2 separate regions of the Homo sapiens genome follow, and region 1 is linked to region 2. The links are contacts of gene promoters, found by promoter capture Hi-C in blood cells and fetal thymus (Javierre and others, 2016). All regions are on one chromosome and are shown on one strand. Each heading gives the region's core, a stretch centred on a gene start or on the middle of the fragment in contact. The rest is flanking DNA. Distances are from core to core; before and after follow the strand shown. Region 1 holds the start of PPP2R3A (protein phosphatase 2 regulatory subunit B''alpha). Region 2 holds the start of NMNAT3 (nicotinamide nucleotide adenylyltransferase 3).

What was found. The method cuts DNA at HindIII sites, captures the fragments that hold promoters and counts their contacts. A CHiCAGO score of 5 or more calls a contact.
Region 1: the fragment with the promoter of PPP2R3A here is called in contact with the fragment with the promoter of NMNAT3 in region 2 in 1 of 17 cell types (fetal thymus); the score reaches 11.4 in fetal thymus.

What each region holds. Positions count from the first base shown.
Region 1 is chr3:135,964,074-135,968,889 of GRCh38, forward strand. It overlaps PPP2R3A (protein phosphatase 2 regulatory subunit B''alpha), which reads left to right and starts at 1,655. Exons shown (of 14, transcript NM_002718.5): 1 at 1,655-1,776. RefSeq lists an enhancer at 1,229-2,047 and silencers at 1,492-1,721, 1,852-2,131. The HindIII fragment of the contact is 2,094 bases long and covers 466-2,559 here.
Region 2 is chr3:139,676,403-139,681,284 of GRCh38, forward strand. It overlaps NMNAT3 (nicotinamide nucleotide adenylyltransferase 3), which reads right to left and starts at 1,570. Exons shown (of 7, transcript NM_001401600.1): 1 at 1,303-1,570. RefSeq lists a silencer at 1,624-1,673. The HindIII fragment of the contact is 2,876 bases long and covers 143-3,018 here.

The sequences.
Region 1 (4,816 bases), core at 405-2,904, 3.7 Mb before region 2:
GTCCTCATGACAGAGAGACTAACTCTATTGTATTGAATCAAATTTCCAGTCACGTATTGTGTCCTTTATACATTCAAGTTATAATGTGTATAAATGCATGGCAAAAGGGCCAAAGGAGCCCTAATGTAAAAACATTGGCAATAAAACTGTTGAGACAAACCAAGAATCCAGGTTGCCAGGGTCAGCAGTTTTAACATTGTTTTATGGTACATTGTGTACTTTTCCTTCTTACTGATATGCATTGCACTGTGACCTTTGCAGAGTCCTATCCTGCCCTGCATTTTTCACAGAGTTGCTCTCAGTCTCAAATAAGATACCATATGCATGTGAAAGGGCTTTTGAAATGGAAAAGCAGTAGAAAGTTGAAAGTAAAATGGTCTCTTTCTCTCTAGGGCATCAAGGCATCTCACAGAGCACACTTTAGCTACTGGGAGGATTGACCTTGGGTGAAATTTCAGTATGTAAAGCTTGTTTGGGGTTATCTTACATAATTTTTTCTTTCCTTGTGCTATACACACACACACACATATATGTGCATATATGTACAATGCACATATATACACACACACATATGGCACCTAGTATATGCTTGGTGCTATGCTAGGTGCTGGGGAGACAGTGAGAACAACCCAGGTGCCCAGGACCTGTCCTCACAGCCCACCTAATCCTTTTAAGTCTTTACATACCTCCCATCCCCCACCCCCATGCTCCTTACTCATGGTATTCAACCCAACTGATTGACTTATTTATTGTTATTTATATGCTTATATATTTATAGATTTATCATTTTATCAAGATTTTTACGAAGATACTCAATTGGAGGTTCCTAATTCTGGAGAAATTTCCATTTTACAAATATATTCTTGGAGAGGGCATGATTATGGACCTGTCACATTTGAGTACTGTGGCAGTTAGAAGGAGGGCAATTTTGGGAGGCCCTTCCAGGCTATGTCCTTCCAGCTATTAATGAGGTTCTGTTTCAGAGCAGACCATATTACACGGTGTTATTAATAAATCTGGCGAGTGGTTATAAGGGTGTGTGTATCGGAATAATCCATTAAGCTGTACATTGGTTTTATATGGCTGTCTATATTTGTGTTTTATTTAACAGTAACAGTTAACAATAACAGTTAAAAATAAGTATCACTTCTTTTAAAATTCACACAACTTCTTGGGCTGAGTGAAATGTGGCGCAGGTGCAGGACTGTGGGAAGACAGGAGCGCCAGGGAATGTCTGGCCAGCAGCGCGCTGCCCTCAAGGGGCCTCCTTGAAGGCCCCTTGAAGAGGGCAACACAACTAATGACGATAACAATAACAACGATGACAATATTGACGATGACAATAACAGTAATAAATCCGAGCAAGAGACTCGAATCTGTCAAACAGCAGCGACCACCACGAATCGCATCCCCGCGGCGCCGCCATACAGGAGACTGCCCTCGCCGAGGCCACAGCGGCTCTCGCGGCGCCCCTGGAGGCCCCCTTCCTGCCTTGGCCAGAGGGGCGGGGCGTAGGCTGGGGGCGGGGCCGGAGAGTGGGCGGGGCCTGGCGCGTGGGCGGGGCTCCGGGCGGGCCGGCCGCCGAGGGTGGGGCCGAGGAGGAGGAGGAGGAGGAGGAGAAGGAGGTAGGGGCCTGCGGGTGGCTGGGCGGGGCGCGCTCGGGCCTCCGCTCTTCACGCGCCGCATTCGTAGCCCGAGAGTCCGCGCCGCGGGGAGGCTTGGAGGCAAGCGCTGCCCGCGAGCTGAGCCGCCGGAGGAGGAGCCGCGGGCAACGAGGTAGGCAAAGGAACACTGGCCGCACGGCCTGGAGCCTTCAGCTCCCTCGTCCCGGCCCGAGGGGGTGGCGAGGCTCGGGGCGGCGCGCGGAGGCCGGGGCGGGCGGGGCCGGGACCTGGGGGCGGGGACCGGCCTGGCCAGAGGGGCCACACGGAGCTGATTGGGCTGTGGAAGTCGGAATTCCAGTCGGTGCGGTGCGGTGCGGTGCGTTGCCTCGGCGCGGCCGGCCGGTCCCGGGACACGGCACCAGGGAGGTGTGGAAATTGCCTGCCCCAGGGGCGCCCGCGGAGGAGGGTAGGCGGGGGCGGCCTGGGCCCTCCCACTTTTCAGGGCTCCTGGGCCAGTTCGCCCGCACAGCCCTCGGGAACTTGTTAACAGGAAAGCCTGGCAGAGAAACAAATGCCAGCGTTTTGGAAGAACTGAGAGTCACGTCGTTAGGCGCTGAGGCTTTCTTTTCCTTCCCCGCCCCCTGCCCAACCTCGGCCCGACTTGGCCAAAGAAGGATGTGTCACCAGCTCCGGGCCGCGGACGGGATTCCCGGCCCGCCAGGAGCCGGGGTACCTGAAACAAAGGTAAACGGAGGCCGGGCGGCCCCTGGTCCTGCACCGCGGCCGCGCTGGAGCGCCTCGGTGGGTCTCTCCCGCGCCGACCTGGCCGCCGCCGCCGCGGAGGGGCGTTCTCCTGGGGGACCTCTCGATGGAAACCAGCTGGCCGGGCTTGGAGTTGATGTTGCATCCGAACTCTGTTGTGCTCCCGTTATTCCCAGTCCTCCCACTCTGGTAAAGCTTAAGGAAATTTTATCCAGTCTTGGTGGTCAGCAAATGTAGGGGAAGACAAATTATTGTTTGTAAATTATAAGGTATTTTCTAATTAGGAAATGGCCTGAAAACATTAAATTCTTAACACGTAAGCAAAAAAAGAGTAATTCCTTCCAACATCTGAGGAAGTATTCCTCCTCAAATCTTCATTTATGTACAAAACATCCCCCACACCTTTGGTGCCAGGCATTTTTCTTTGTTCTTCCTTAGTCTCAGGCCTTAGTTTCTTGTAAACAGAACCCAGCGCCTAGACCCTAAGAATTGCCATACTAGGTCAGAGCATGGGCGTCCAGTTCAGTAGGCAGCCGGCTTGTGTTGTAGTAAAACTGTTGTTTTTTTTTCTTGGTGGTATGTTAAAAATTATCTCAGTTTCTTTCAGTAGTCCATGAAAGCCTTTTAAAAATTTTCTAAGCCACTGCTAATTTACACACACAATTTATTTACATTTATTGCATCCAAATGGCCCTTTTATCACCTCTGGCAGAAGAACTTAATGGCATGAGATACTTGTGGAAAAAAACTTAGATCTTTTATACAATCTAGGAGCTCAGAAATCTAGGAGATTTCTAGGAGAACGGGGAAACAGATCAAAAAGGTTTTTAAAAAACAAAGCTTTGGGAAAGTGTTACTGGGGCCAATCTGGCTGTTGAGTTCAAAAATAGCTTTATGCACTGACAACCTGAACATTGAGCAGTTAAAGATTTATTTGTACTCATAAGTATTTGCATATTTTAAAATGTAGCTTAACATTCTGGAGAGTGAAGGGCCTATCTGACTTTATCTTGGGCTGAATTAATTTGGCCTTAATGTTCAGCTGAAACCAGCTACTCTGAGAGAATGGAAGTTTTGTTTCAGCGAGAAAGGAAAAAAGGAAATGAATAATTTTGGAGTATAGGGTACTTGGGGGCACCTGTTCAAATCATAACTTTGCTTTTAAACTCTTCAGAGACTCCTCCTTGCTCCTGACAAACATAGTCCCCACTGATCTGGCCCCTGTTACCTTTCAAACACACAGCTGAAGCTTCACCTCTGCCCTGAAGCTTTGCTTGACACCCCCCATCCCCCAAAAAGAAAACAGATATTTAAAAATCACCACCCTCAGAAGTGCAATTGACAGCTCTTTTGAGTGTTATCGTCCTCTGAGTCAGAGTTTCTCATTTGTAGTTCTGTTGACATTTTAGGCCAGGTAATTTCTAGTTGTGGAGGGCTATCATGTGCAGCGTAGGATGTTTAGCAGCATTTCTAACCTTTACTGAGGAATAGATACCAGTAGCACTCCACACACACAGTTGTGAACATCAAAAATGCTTACAGACATCGCAAATGTCCCCCAGGAGGACCAAAATCACCCTTAGTTAAGAACCACTGTTGTGAGCAGACTGCTGCCTTAACACTAGTGACGCAGCATTGTCCTCATTTGCTTAGGTGTTTACTATACTAAGCTTGAGGGCGGGAACAGTTATTTATTTAACAGATTTCTGAAGGCCTGTTTTGCCAACTGGACACTAGATTAGGTATGGAAATAGATTAGTAAAAACAACTTTGCATGCCTGGACCTTATAGTCTAAGGAGGGTGACAGATGTATACATGCATAAATATACATTTATCTCATTACGATTGTGTTAATTTCTGGGAGAAGTACAGGCAGCTCTGAGTGCATAAAACAGATGTCCTGATGTAGTTTGGAAACTGGGGAAAGTTTCCATGGGGAAGTGACCTTTGAGGTGGACGGTGAAGGATTAACAGGAGTTACTAGGTGAAGCTCACGGGAACAATATTCCGGGCAGAAGGAACAGATGTGAATACCTTGAGGAAGAAAGGAACAGGGCCGCTTTTGGGAACCCAGAAGCCAGGAACACGGAGAGTGATGACACAAAATGAAGCTAGGAAAATAGGCAAAGGCTGTCCACTAAGCAGTGGTTCTCAGTCCAACACTCTCATCAGAACCACCAGAACTTAAGACCGACGCCTGGGCCCTCCTCCAAGCAAATCAGAGCATTTTTGGTGGGTTCTGCTCCCTCCCCCAGCTACCATTTTCCCTGTCTTCCAAAGGAATAACCACTGATACTAGTTTTGTATATCATTGTAGACATTTTTTGTGGGCATTCAAGGAAATGCATATCTTTCCTCTTACTGTTTTACACAAATGGTAGCATACTGTACACTCTGTTTTCTTAAAAATGTCTTGGGAATCTTTCCACTTCAGTATATAGTTTCCTTA
Region 2 (4,882 bases), core at 320-2,819:
GGGAAGTCTTCTGTCCAGTTTTAAGAGGTGACACCAAAAGCTGAGAACCACCAATGAAATTCAAGAAGTAACTGATGCTCAGTGGAGCTGTGTGAACCATACCTTCAGGGGCTCCTGGGTGGCTTTCTGAGAAAAACAGAGAAGCTTTCCCCTGCAAGGCCAGTGGGTAAGAACCCTTTCTCTGGGTTGTGCCAGGGTGGAACTGTCACTTTATTTCACCTGGCCCACCGGACATGGGCTCCAGGAGGGCAGGGCCCCTGTCTGATTTCTCTCTGAATCCTCAGAGCCAGGGTAAAGTGGGCGCCAGTTAAATGTTTCAAGAATGAACAACTAAACCAGTCATCATTTTAGAGAACAGGCTGTTTGAGAGATTCTACTCAGAACCACTTATTTGATAGAGGAAGAAACAGGACTCAAGGAGAGGGGAAGTGACTTTGCTGAGAGGCAGGCACACTGTGTTTAGTCCAGAACAACATCAAGCCTTGGATGTTTAGTGCAGAGTAACATCCAGCACCCATCACGCAGTGCTAAGTCATTTACATTCACCATTTCCATTCTCAATGGGTAGAACAATCCCATTTTACAGAGGAGAACGTTAAGGTTAAGGAACTTGCTTTCCCCCCAGCTCTCTGCAGGCCAGCCCCACCAACCCTCCTTTCCTCAAGCCACATTCTCTCCCAACAAAATGAGTTTGCTCTGTTGTTCCCCGCCCGGGAATTCTCTAAAGTTTTAGTTCCAGCAGCCTTTGTAGCTGGGGGCCCTGATAAAATCTCTCCAGCACCCTAGAATTTCAATCTTCATAGCTCTGACCACAGTTTTAACGTTCACACTTGTTTGCATAGATATCCATTTGCTGTCGGTCTCCCCCCACTGGACTGTGAGCTGCACGGGGGAGGGCACCACATTTTTTGGCCTGCTACTGTAACCCCAGCACTTAGCCCAGCAGCGGACACTGAGTGGAACACGTTAAGTATTTGTTAGACACTGTGCTTATATTTTTAACCTTTGAGTGCACGAGTGCTAAAGGTGGGATCCGAACCCACGTCTCCGGGACTCTGGTCATAGCCAAAGGGGAGCTGGGGGTTAGGTTGACACGCTGCAGCGAGAACCGCCGGCGCGCAGAGGCAGCGCGGAGCTGTCCCCCCGGTTCGCGCCACCCCGGATGGCTCCGCACTCCGCCGCCACCTGTCGCCCCAGCGGGGACTCCCAGGACTCAGTTAGGGGCCAGGAGTCACGTGGGCCCGGGCATTCAGCCGCGATCCAGGTCCTAGTGGGCTGACGAGGGGCCCACGCTGCGCTTACCTGCTATTTGCAGGGCTCAGCAACGGCGCTCGGCGAGTCTCGGGGGACTGCGGGGGACTAGGGGACCTGCTGGGCCTAGCAGGGGCTGTCGGTCAGCGCGCGGCCCGGCGCCCGAGGTCCGAGAGGGAAACGACGTTTGGTCTCGGGACTCAAGGCTGCCTCCGGCCCGGGCAGCCTCAGGTCTAGATCCCCTAGTACCTGAGCTGGAGGCGGGGCCAAGGCGAACTTGACCTTGCGCTCCCTTAGCGGCCCCGGGCAGATGGAGTCTGAGGGAAACAGATCTGCGCCCCGCCCCTTCGCTGGGGCGGGCCCTAAGGAGACCCGGCCCTGGCCCCGCCCAGGGTCCTAAGCCCCGCCCTCTCCCCTGCCCCCGCCCCCGCCCGCTGGCTCCCAACCGCCAAGGCTCTTTTGTGTTGCGTGCGTGTTTGCTTTTTTATTCTCCTGTTTTGTATTCTGTTTGTTTTGTATTTTTATTTAATTTTCTTTTAAAAAAATACATGAAAGTAACGCCCACTTACTTATTAGAAAATAAAATTATCTAGATTTGCTTATAATGAAAGCAACAGGCCACTTCTCCCTCCCATCACAGCTCTTTTTAACAATTCCTCCGTTAATTTCTTCTAGTGGTCACCCGCTTGTCGCAAAAAAAAAATAAATAAATAAAATAAAAAAATAAAAAAAGAAACTTACATAGCGATTTCTTGATTTATCCATTGACTTTCTGCCATGTTATATGAGGATCTACTCTCTTACTGCGCGGCCCCTGTTTCCTTCTGACAAATTTACACCTCTATTCTCAAGCCCTGCCCTGGTAAACGCCAGACCTCAAAGCAGGGAAGGATTTCTGGGGCCTGAAGCATACACAGTTGTGTGGGGAGAAGGAAGGGAGGGCTGCTTAAGAAAGAGAAGACAGAATTAGGGCTTGCCAGTGAACATTTATTTGGAATGAGAAAATAAATCTTAACAGAATCCTGGGGTCTTAGAGATTGGGGTCCCTATCCCCTAAAACCTTCTTAGGAAATTTAGGTCCCAAATTTGCTTCCCTAACGCAGTCTGGCTTCCTCTGCCCACCCAGAACTCTCCATAAGCCCCCAGGGCTCATGGGAGCCTTGCAGAGAGAGGCCTTGAAGGACAAGATTCACTAGATTCTGCCAATACAGTTTCCTAATGGAGTGAATTGGAGTGTGCGAAAAAGAGAGACATCAAGGATGATGTCAAGGTTTTTTGATTGCTGTACACTTAATTTCCAGCGTTTCCTAGACACAGGAACACAACCTCATCTTAGTATGGAGAGTGTTTTATAAGCCTGTCCACATCACCAGAGCCTCACGGTGCACCCATGAAGTTGGCTGGACGGGTGCACTGTCCACAGTTTTAGGAGGCCCATAAATTTGTCCCTTGTGTATTAGCACCGGGGGCATGCAACTTGCACCCAATAAGTACCCAGGTAAATGGTACTTCCCCACTCAGTCTGAAGACACAGTGTCCGTGCCCTCTCGGATCCCTTTTCTCTTACCTGTGGTGTAAAATGTGGCTCCAGAAGGTGATCTTGGACAAGTCTCTTTACTTCCCAAGCCTCACTTTCCTTTCGTATAATGGGAGGTAACAACCCCTACCGCACTGAGTTTTGGGGAGGATTAAGTGGCTTAACATCTTTGGATATTCTTTAATTGATAAGTCAGCTTATTTCCCAGCAGGGTGGGAGGCTCATGAGAAAGCTTAGGGATTTCTGAGAATCTTGTGTAGCATGTAGTACCACAGGTTGATTAGAGGCCTTCGATTAAAATCGTGGGCTGAAGAGTCATTCTGGGTCAGGGCCCTAGGCCAGGGAGGGAGAAGCTGCACACAGAGAGCAGAGAAGAGGCTGGGCAATGACTTCCTCATGCAAGGGAAGCTTTCTCTGCCTGAGGTAGTGAAGACTAAAGCTTGGTCTAGGAGGAAGCCTGGTTTCCTAGGCAAGAAAAAAGGAATGAATTAATGGCATTCACAGCAACTGGATGAGATTGGAGAGTGTTATTCTAAGTGAAGTAACTCGGGAATGGAAAACCAAACATGGTATATTCTCATAAGTGGGAGCTATGCTATGAGGATGCAAAGACATAAGAATGACACAGTGGACTTTGGGGACTCAGAGGGGAAGAATGGGAAGGGAGTGAGAGATAAAAGACTACAAATTGGGTTCAGTGTATACTGCTCGGGTGATGGGTATACCAAAATCTTACAAATCTCCTCTAAGGAACTTACTCATGTAACCAAATACCACCAGTTCCCTAATAACCTATGGAAATAAAAATATTTTTTTAAAAAAGTAGCGTCCCCTTGTGCTGGAAGGTAAGAACCTCATATAATAGCCAAGCTTTACCTAACCTAAGCGGTGAAGACGCAATGGCTGAGAAATCCATTTTGGAGAGGCAACTACCTCCTAATTTTTTAGAAGGAGGAATACCTAAATGCAAGTCTTGTATTTGCTTAAGCTCACAAAAAGACTACTGGATTATGGGTATAATGGGAATAATATTTTCAGATCTCTCCTTTATTGGTAAGTTTCATTTCTCCTGGATCCTATCTGCCATTATGGCTCAAGGAAGGTGGCCACCTAATGCCACCTCAGGAAGGAGGAAGATTTTACATAGAGGATGTCTCAGCTTGAGTGCCTCAGAACCAGATCCTGAGGTAAGAATTAATGCAAGTAGTTATTTGAGAGGTACATGGAACACCAGCAGAGTAATGAAGAAGCAATACAGGGAAGAAAAGGGGAGCTCAATAAAAGATTAAGCCAGCTACTATAATAGATGTTTAGGGCTTAATCCTAGGGGAAAACCCTAGAAAACTGTGTGAAGAGCATGCCTTGGAATCATCCCACCCAAGGCTGCAGGAGACAGGTCTCTACAGGGAAAAAAGCTGGAACTGACCACTTAGCTCATATTTTTGAACATTTAAAACATTATTTCTAGGCATAAAAATGTCATTACTAAAATGAGATCTGGCTACAGTATAACACTATTCTGCAGTTTCCTTCTATCACTTAACAGTGTGCTGATGAAGTTTCAGGAGGAACTCTTTGGGCAGTAAGCAATGTGCAGATGGCTGAGAGTCACAGTCCTGGGATGGACCTGAGGCCATTCTGGAAAGCTTGCTTGTGGATGGATTGTGATGAGGCCGTAGACTGGGGCAGCCTCTGTATTTGGATGAACCTATTCTAACCTTGACTTCTGACCTGTCGCTGAGGAAAAGCAAGCTTTGAGTGGGTAAAAGTAAAATGTAAAAGGGAGACTGGTGGACTTTTCAAATGACCAAAGAGGGCAAACTTTTCAGTCACTGCAACTACTTCAGCAGATGGGCATTTTCTTTTCTTTTCTTTGAGATGAAATTTCACTTTTGTAGCCCAGGCTGGAGGGCAGTGGCGTGCAACCTCCGCCTCCCAGGTTCAAGTGATTTTCCTGCCTCAGCTTCCCAAGTAGCTGGGATTACAAGCGCTCGCCACCACGCCCAGCTAATGTTTGTATTTTTAGAAGAGACAAGGTTTCACCATGTTGGCCAGGCTGGTCCTGACCTCAGGTGATCCACCCGCCTTGGCCTC